Linked DNA regions of Homo sapiens: regions 1 and 2 are each linked to region 3. The links are contacts of gene promoters, found by promoter capture Hi-C in blood cells and fetal thymus (Javierre and others, 2016). All regions are on one chromosome and are shown on one strand. The core of a region is centred on a gene start or on the middle of the fragment in contact, and the rest is flanking DNA. Distances in the headings are between cores, read along the strand shown. Region 1 overlaps BORCS5 (BLOC-1 related complex subunit 5). Region 2 holds the start of MANSC1 (MANSC domain containing 1). Region 3 holds the start of YBX3 (Y-box binding protein 3).

What was found. The method cuts DNA at HindIII sites, captures the fragments that hold promoters and counts their contacts. A CHiCAGO score of 5 or more calls a contact.
Region 1: a contact is called between a fragment that was not itself captured here and the fragment with the promoter of YBX3 in region 3, in 1 of 17 cell types (M2 macrophages). The highest score is 5.9, in M2 macrophages.
Region 2: a contact is called between the fragment with the promoter of MANSC1 here and the fragment with the promoter of YBX3 in region 3, in 1 of 17 cell types (M2 macrophages). The highest score is 6.1, in M2 macrophages.

What each region holds. Positions count from the first base shown.
Region 1 is chr12:12,365,208-12,367,907 of GRCh38, forward strand. The region is part of intron 2 of BORCS5 (BLOC-1 related complex subunit 5); the gene reads left to right. Among named protein-coding and RNA genes, the nearest start is that of BORCS5, 9.5 kb to the left of the region's middle. The HindIII fragment of the contact is 928 bases long and covers 987-1,914 here.
Region 2 is chr12:12,348,983-12,351,715 of GRCh38, forward strand. It overlaps MANSC1 (MANSC domain containing 1), which reads right to left and starts at 1,260. Exons shown (of 4, transcript NM_018050.4): 1 at 1,096-1,260. RefSeq lists a silencer at 1,261-1,570. The HindIII fragment of the contact is 5,175 bases long and covers 366-2,733 here.
Region 3 is chr12:10,721,901-10,724,600 of GRCh38, forward strand. It overlaps YBX3 (Y-box binding protein 3), which reads right to left and starts at 1,423. Exons shown (of 10, transcript NM_003651.5): 1 at 950-1,423. The coding sequence starts at 1,211. It overlaps LOC124902876, which reads left to right and starts at 1,152. Exons shown (of 2, transcript XM_047429946.1): 1 at 1,152-1,760. The coding sequence starts at 1,210. RefSeq lists silencers at 669-1,068, 1,199-1,298, 1,319-1,538. The HindIII fragment of the contact is 1,699 bases long and covers 438-2,136 here.

The DNA.
Region 1 (2,700 bases), core at 201-2,700, 1.6 Mb after region 3:
ATTTGGTTAAGGAAGGTAGAGATGAGATCATGGCTCACTCCAGCCTCCACCTCCTGGGCTCAAGCGATCCACCCATCTCAGCTTCCAGAGTAGCTGGGACTACAGTGTGCACCACCACACCCGGCTAATTAAAATACATTTTTTTTTTTTTTTGTAGAGACAGGGTTTCACTATGTTGCCCATGTTGGTCTTGAGCTCCTGGACTCCAGTGCTCCTCCCACCTTAGCCTCCCAAAGTGCTGAGACTACAGGCATGAGCCACCATGCCCGGCCCGAGTTTCAAAAAATACTATAGAAAATAGTTTGTATAATTCATCCCCCCCACCCCAACCCCCACTTGATGAGAGTGGCGTGAATCTAGAAATGACAACATGTGGCTGTGGCCAGACTATAGCAAACAAAAAGCCAGTGAGCATTGAAGGTGATGCTCATGTTTCACTTGTGAAGACGAAACATCTTGGGCCGTGATTAGGAAAGATAGGCAAAGGGGGTGGAAATGATAAGTTTAATTATGATAATAGTATCTTATCCCCCATGCTTCTACATAATAGCTATTGTTCTTTCTGTTTTTATAGATTAAAATATTGAGGCCTAGAGAGCTTAAATTAATTGCCTAAAGTCACATGGCTGTAAGTGATAGCACATTTTAAGATTGCATCAGGACATAGAATAAGACTTAGTTTCCAATTCTAGCAAAGCCCATTATAGAAATCACTAGGATATACAGGAACTAGCGTGGTGGGTATGAGGTTGTTTGGGTTTTGAGGTGCAGCATTTGTTGCAGAGCCTCCTGCTTTGACGTTGTTCTGCCTGATAATTAAAAGCCCTACCCTCTGCCTGCTGGGCTGCTGCAGGGGCCAGGCATCACTGTCGCCTTTATACTCTGACTCTTTTTTCCCCCTTTCCTGCTTTCAGGATGAGGCCATTCCTCAAAATAGTAAAAAGGCCACACAGTGAAGCCTGTACCCCCCAGGTTTGATTTCAGAAAGCTTTTATTCAACTTAATGACAGTTTATTCTTTCAAAACAATATATTGAAGTATTACACAGAGTTCACTATTGTTTCATAATGTCATATGATGTAATGCTAATGCTGGTGGGTGATCTGCAGAGGCAGTGGCTGGGCGAGTTTGGGGCTATTTGTATGACTGAGGTAATGTTTGCATTTTTAATAAGCAAGCAGATTCTTTCTTTGGCCTTAACCCTTTTGCATAAATATACCAGAGTATAATTTATGCTCCATAATCCAAATATCTGTTCCTTTTTTTATCAAAGGGATTTCTGTTTTTCATAGCAATGTCTGAATTAGTAATTTATTTTGACATGTAAAGCATTTTATAGGAAATGAAAGATTAGAAAATTAGAAAGTAGCTACAAATGGCTGTGACAGAACACAAAGGCAAAATAGTAGATTTGATGTAAGTTAGCAAGATTCCAAGAAGTTAACAAACCCTGTATAGATTTCTTACTTGAAATTCAACCACTCATATTTTTTAATGAATCCCACTCTATTGTATGTCATTCTAAAGAAATGAAATATTTGCAAGAGAAAAGTAATATGGTTGGTGTTTTATATATAAAGTTACAAAAATAATTATTCACTCTTAGTAGATGAATATGTGCATATTTACACACATGCATGCATGTGACATTCTTTCCAACCGATCTGTCATTTTTGTTACTGACCTTGGATACAACGTAAGAGATTGTATTGCTGCCTATGGAAGGGGCTGTTTTTGTTAATAACAAGGATGATCAAACATATACAGTGTAGATACTGAAGTGATACTAAGCAGCTTTGTTGGGAGTTTGGTGTTTGGTTGTTAAGAACATGATGCATGTGAAGTAGATTTTGATAATTAAAAGGAGCCTGGGGCTTTTCATAGTGGAGCGAAATCTCATGGAACAGCAGTGAAAGCTTTCAAATCACATGGAACATTGAGAACTGGAACCTGAAAGTGTAGCTAGGGAAGAATGAAGCAATGGAAAAAGGGCGATAAGGAGAGCATGATGGAGCTAGATTTCAAATGACCAGTTTCTTCACATTCTTCTGTCATCTGGACAAATAAAAGTCTTTGCATTCATCAGATGTCTGCCTCTACCAGCTGTCAGACCTTATCATTGCATTGGAAAATGGCAGCCAAAGGAGGGGACAAGAGAATGGATCTTAATCAGAGCCACAGTCTTCTCTGAATGGCTTAAAGGTAATCTCTAAACCCAGGGGTAATCCTAAGTATATTTTCTCCCAAATACCATATTGGAAAGATTGATGACTTATTCCTGATTACTTTATGGGTTTGTATTTGTAATAGCTCTTCAGTTAAGCTTTTAAACATGGCTATTCAGAGAAGTGTGAGTTGTGTGTAAAAACAAAAACAAAAATAAACATAGCTGTTTACCAGCATTGGGTTAGCCTTACTCAGAAGAGTGGGAAGTACCAGGTGAATGGTTGCTTTCAACCGATTGAGAAAGTGAAGCTGTCTCACCAGAACACCCTCATCTTTTCCCTTACTCCCATAAATCTCTGTGTGCCTGCATCCATTCTTGTTTCTTTCCATTAAGTCTCAGATGAGGTATTCATGCCTTTCTCTGAAACTTAATGCCATTCTGTTTCACTCTTTCCATTTGCTGGGACTTTGCTCCTGTCCTTTTCTCTTTTTGTCTCGCAACTAGCTTAGTGGACCTCTTTCCTCTTGTTCAGA
Region 2 (2,733 bases), core at 10-2,509, 1.6 Mb after region 3:
GGTCATCTAATAACTGCCATAATTTTGACGTGGTATTGAGTATAGATAATATTTTGAAACGTGCAACAAGTCATGTGATATAAAGATATCGGCAATATTTACAGGGGGCAAATCATAGCTACTGCTAATACTACTGTGGCTTTTGCCTACATTCCATTTCAGAAGTCGGTGAAATAATAATTTTTTCCACTCAAGTTCACAGACATCCTGAATTCTATCCATGGATACCTTATCGTGGACTCCCCAGGTTAATAATTCTGGCCAAGGTACTTAATACGCTGCCATATTTTGCAAGCCTCTAGGGAATCAAGAGAAAACCAGGCCAATACTTTATTTTGAATGGATTCTAATGTAGCCTCTTTTCAAGCTTTTGCAAAGAAACCTGAACTATGTAAGGAGATGGGGCAGGAGTTGTTTTCAGTATGCAGCATTGAGAGAAGTGTTTAAGAGTTTTATATCATTAAAGAGGCTCAGCAATATTAGGTTAGCGACGTTTTCTAATCCATTATTATTTAGGCTTTAAGGGCCTGAAGTCGAGTTGAATCTTGTTGAAAGACGGGGTAAAAGGATACAGGCGGGTGAGAGAGGATGCCCCTGAGTTTTAACGTCTGCATACAAGAGTCGCTAAAACTTACTCGCACGTAATTAGTTCAAATATTGGAAATCGTCTTACAGCACACTATAATTTACCAAGATGCTTATAACTGTATACACACACACACTCTACAGAGAATTAGACAATTAGCAGTTTCAATAATGAATACAGAGTCAACGACAAGAAAACAGGGAACATTTTCTCTTCCTTTGAGGAAATGCATGTTGCCTACTGAGCTATTCTTCTGCCTCTCCTTCTGATGTCAACGCAGAGCCAGAGCCATTTATGGCAGGTGCCTTGAGCCCGCCTAGAGGTCCCCTTTGGAATACTGCAGCGACTCAAGGATCCTGGTCAGCCCTTATTGGCCCCAGCTGGTCCTTTGGATGCTCGGGTGTGGGTGAAGGAGCCTCGGCCCCTGGAAAGGAGGGGACCGACTCTCTCCGCAGGTAGCGACGTCGCCTGCGGCCGGTCGGGGGTGGGTATTGGGGAGACCCCTTTACCTGGCGTCGAGAGGACCCCGGCGCCCCTGCTGCCATCCAGGTGCGAGGACAGCTCTGTCGCGCCCGCGGGAAGGACCGGCGAATCCGCGCGGGGGTCTCGGCGAGGACCGCAGCGGATGCTCCGCAGCTCCCGCACCGGCCTGGCGGGTTTTGTGGTTAGCAAGTTCCTGCTTCCGTCGCAGCGACGGCAAGTTTGCCGCGGGGGAAGGGCACGTTCCTGCCCTGCAACCCGGAGCTGCTTCCCGGCAACATTAGCGCGTCCCTCCCCGCGGAGGCTCCGGGCTCCCGGCCCCAGCGCTGAGCCCCGCAGGGAGGTGGCTCCCCCCACCGCCCCGCGCTCCCCCCCAGCTCAGCCACACCGCTGACCCCGGGCTGGGCGCGCTGCGAGGGGGAGTGCGTGCCTCCCTGCTGGTGGCCCGAGGGTCTGCAGGTGAGCCTTGCCTCGCGGCCCGCGCAAGTTAAAATAAATGCACATGGGGAAAATGTCAAACAGTACAAAAATAGACACAGAGACAAGTCTACCCCTCACCCCCGTGCCCCAGTCTCCTAGTCTCCCTCCTCAGAGGCAACCACTGAGAGCAGTTTTTTGATGTTCAAGGGCTTATAGTGCATCCTATTGGGGGCATAGTTCTGAGAATCCTCTTTCCATAATTGGAGGATGGAGTCCTCAATTAAAGATGGCAATTCTTGAGTTAAATATTATCTGCAAGACAAACTTCAGGGAAGGTATTTGGCTTTCTGCGGGATTTATTGTTTGTAGATAGGATAATAATGGTGAAAATGCTGGTGTCTGTAACATATATTAAAACTGTATCCCTAACACTTAGCATAGTGCCTGGTACACAATAGGTGCTCAGTAAATATTTAACTAAAATATTTTTGTTGACTGAATGAATGGAAAAGAACTGCATAGGGCATAGGTTGTGGAAGTTTCTAAATTACTGCTGGCCCCATCCCCACCTCCATAAACACACACACAAATGCAACGTTACTAAACCATTGACACTTAGTTTGCCATATGGTCTAACCTTTGACAGTATCTTCACCTCTGTTTTGAAAGAGCTTGCAGACCTGAAGCGCTATGCAATTGCAAGTTAAGTCTAGGCCTGTACGGCCAACAGCTACACACCCTAGTCTTAACCAATAACTACAGGAGGATTAGGTTGACTGAGAATGCTTGTGAACAAAGGTCCATTGTGTGAAACTAACTCTACTTGTAACCAAAGGATGACTCTTGAATTACAATGTTGCTAAAGCTAGGTTTGAAAGAGTTACCAAAGAAAAGTAAACACCAGAGTAATTTCCCATTGCAGTGATTTTCCTGATGCAACAAGGGACTGATCTGCAAGTGTGTTTTATCTTTTATCATCTGATACACTTCAGGGTTCAGGGTGTAGAGCTATCACAGTTTTTGAATCTCTCTACATGGGGTAATCCATGCTAGTTACAAAGTAGACCTTTCCATTATTAGAAACTTCGTATTCGGTGCTTTAATACAATGAACCTGTTTCTTTTTTTGTTTTGTTTTGTGTTTTGTTTGTTTTTAGAGACGGAGTCTCGCTGTGTTGCCCAGGCTGGAGTGCAGTGGTGTGATCTCGGCTCACTGCAACCTCCACCTCCCGGGTTATAGCAATTCTT
Region 3 (2,700 bases), core at 173-2,672:
ACAGGGGCGTTACTTACGAAAAGAACGCTTGTTATGTGACTAAACCAACAACCATCACAGAAACCCTTTCCATCCACTGCCCCCCCAAATCTCAACATTTCATCTTCCTGTTTCCCTTCCTACGTTACAAGTGCCAAGGTAACAATGTTTTGAACTAACGTCATACCCCCACTTCCGACAAAGTTTTTTCAGCTGCTACACCACGTGCGTTCCCACAGTCCGGGAAGAGGGAAGCGTGTAGCCATTGGTGGACACTGAATGGCTGTTTGCAGCCGTGGGCACAGAGAGGGGGAGGAAGACGTGGGACTAAGACCCAAGTTTCCCGGAGACGATTGCAACATCTCTTTGCTGGCATGTGGCCAACAGGAGCATGGCGTCTTTCCCATGCCCATGTGGGAAGGGCGTCAGGGACAGACACCTGACCCTTCCTGGCAAGAAGCTTTTCTATCTTTCCCTCCCCGTCTCCTTCTAGCGCCCTCCTCTTCCCCAAAGGAAATGCTCTCCTTTCCCAGATCCCAAGCAAGGACCCCAAAGCGCCAGGCCCACGTGTCGGTCCTTCCCCTACATCCATCCCTACCCAAGGTCCCCTCTCCCAGACTGCCTCTCCTTTCTTCTCCAAACGCAGGCATTTTCCACCACGCGAATCCGCAACAGTGCCCGTCTGGGAGACAGAAGTTAAGACCTAAACTTTCTGGCCCGGAACCAGAAGGGAGATGCACACGGCCGCCAGGAGCGCAGGGCGCAGCGCGCTCACCTGGGAGCGCCGGCAAGGGAGGCGGCCAGCGCTGGGGACCCGGAGACCCCTGGGGACCCGGAGATCCCTGGGGACCCTGTGCTGTCAGCGTCTCCAGCCCGGGTGGGAGATGTAGCGCGAGCTGCCCACACGTGCTCCGCGGCCGGCTGGGCCCGCCCCACTACGGCAGCCCCTGCCCTCCCTGGCCTGACTCACCGAGAACTTTTTTCTCCGCGTCTTCGCTGCCGGCGGCGGTGGCTAAAGAGGCGGCGGCCGCGGTGCCCGTGGCTGCGGGGGCCGCGTCCCCACCGGGGTTTCCTGCGACGTGGGCGGCGGGCGCCGGGGCCGCGGCCTGGGGCGCACCGCTGCCCACCGGGCTCTTGGGCGCGGGGTCCTGGGGAGCCGCGGCGGCCGCCTCCGTCGGAGCCTGCGGGAGGGTGGTGGTGGTGGTGGTGGTGGCCTCGCCCGCCTCACTCATGCCTCCTCCTCCTCTGCTCTCGCTCAGGCGCCTCGGTGGCGGTTGGTCGGCGGTTAGCGCGGCTGGTGGTCGCGGCGGCCGGGGCTCGCTCTCGGGGAGGCCGGGGCGGATCTCGCGGCGCAGGCGGCGGCGGCCGAGGTGGGGTCGCGCGGCGGAGGCGGCTCGAGCTTCGTGCTGCGCGCTCTCTCTTGGGCTCCTCGCTCGATCTTACTGCCCCAAAAATGGCCCCGCACAAGTTTTTCTAGGCGGCGCACCGGCCCGGGAGGGAAGGGCGGGCGAGGGGAGAGGGTGGGGAAACTTGGCTCGGGAGTCGGGCCCTGGACTCTCATTAGCATTTAAAGGCGCCCGGTGCGCTTTCTATGGCTCCAATCCGCCGGGACGCGAGCGCGCGGGTCGCGTTGCAGAACCAAGGAAAGCCAGGGTGAACGGGGCGCCCGGGTTGTCTTCTGGAGCGTTCCGAGGAGCCCGCGCTGCTGACCCTTTGTTGGAGCGGGGTGCATTGGCTCTCCTCCCTCAACCCGTCTTGACACCCGCAGCTGACAAGGAGAGGTAAAATAGGGCACCCAAACTACTCTGCGCTTTACCCTCTCAAACACTTGTTTTTAAATCCTTTGCATCTAGTCAGTCATTCAACATGTATCAAGCACCAGCAGCTATTCGTAGCACAGCTGTTAAGACCTGGAATAATAAAACCTTAAGACTATTTGGCAACTTACTCCTGAAAGGTAATATACGGATAATTTCATCTGTAACACGCAGATGAGGAAATTGACCTCACAGATTTAATGTAAATTCAGAGTTTACACCAATTTAACCGCAACAAATAAGGAGCTGTCAATATATATTTAATAAGGAACACACACAAAAAAAGCTGAATAAATCCACTTCCTACCTTCTGCTCCAGTTGCCTCTGCCAGCTGGTGAAAGCTTAAGGAACTGAGCCCTCTTAGCCTCGAGGATGAGAGGTATAGAGAAACAGATCACCCAATAAACATTATTCCCAAGTTGAAGAGCCCACATGCCCTTTGAGAATGGGCTGGATGGTAGTAAACACAGGGCCAGAGGGTCTGGGATCTGTACCCAAAGACTGTCTGGAATACAGGACTATTTGGCCCCTAGGGTTCAGACAGACTAGGTATAAATTCTGGCTTTGTTTTTTATTAACCAGGTTAACTTGGGACAGAGATTCAATGTCCCAGAGTCGGTTTCCTGCTTTATGAGAGGTTCTCAAAGGTGACATGAAAAGTAGATGAGATTATCATGTGTCACTCCAGTGTCCGGTCCACCTAAAGCTCCTTTGTTTTGTTTGTTTTTTAAGTTATTGCCTGTTCCCTCAAACAATTTACCAAATTTTTTTCCAGGAATATGTCTGTAATGTCGATGTCTACCTTAACATCAGTAGGGTAACTATCAAGTGTAATTCATCTTTGTATCTCCACTGGTTAGTACAGTACGTAGCACAGAGTTTGGACATAGTGAATGTTTACAA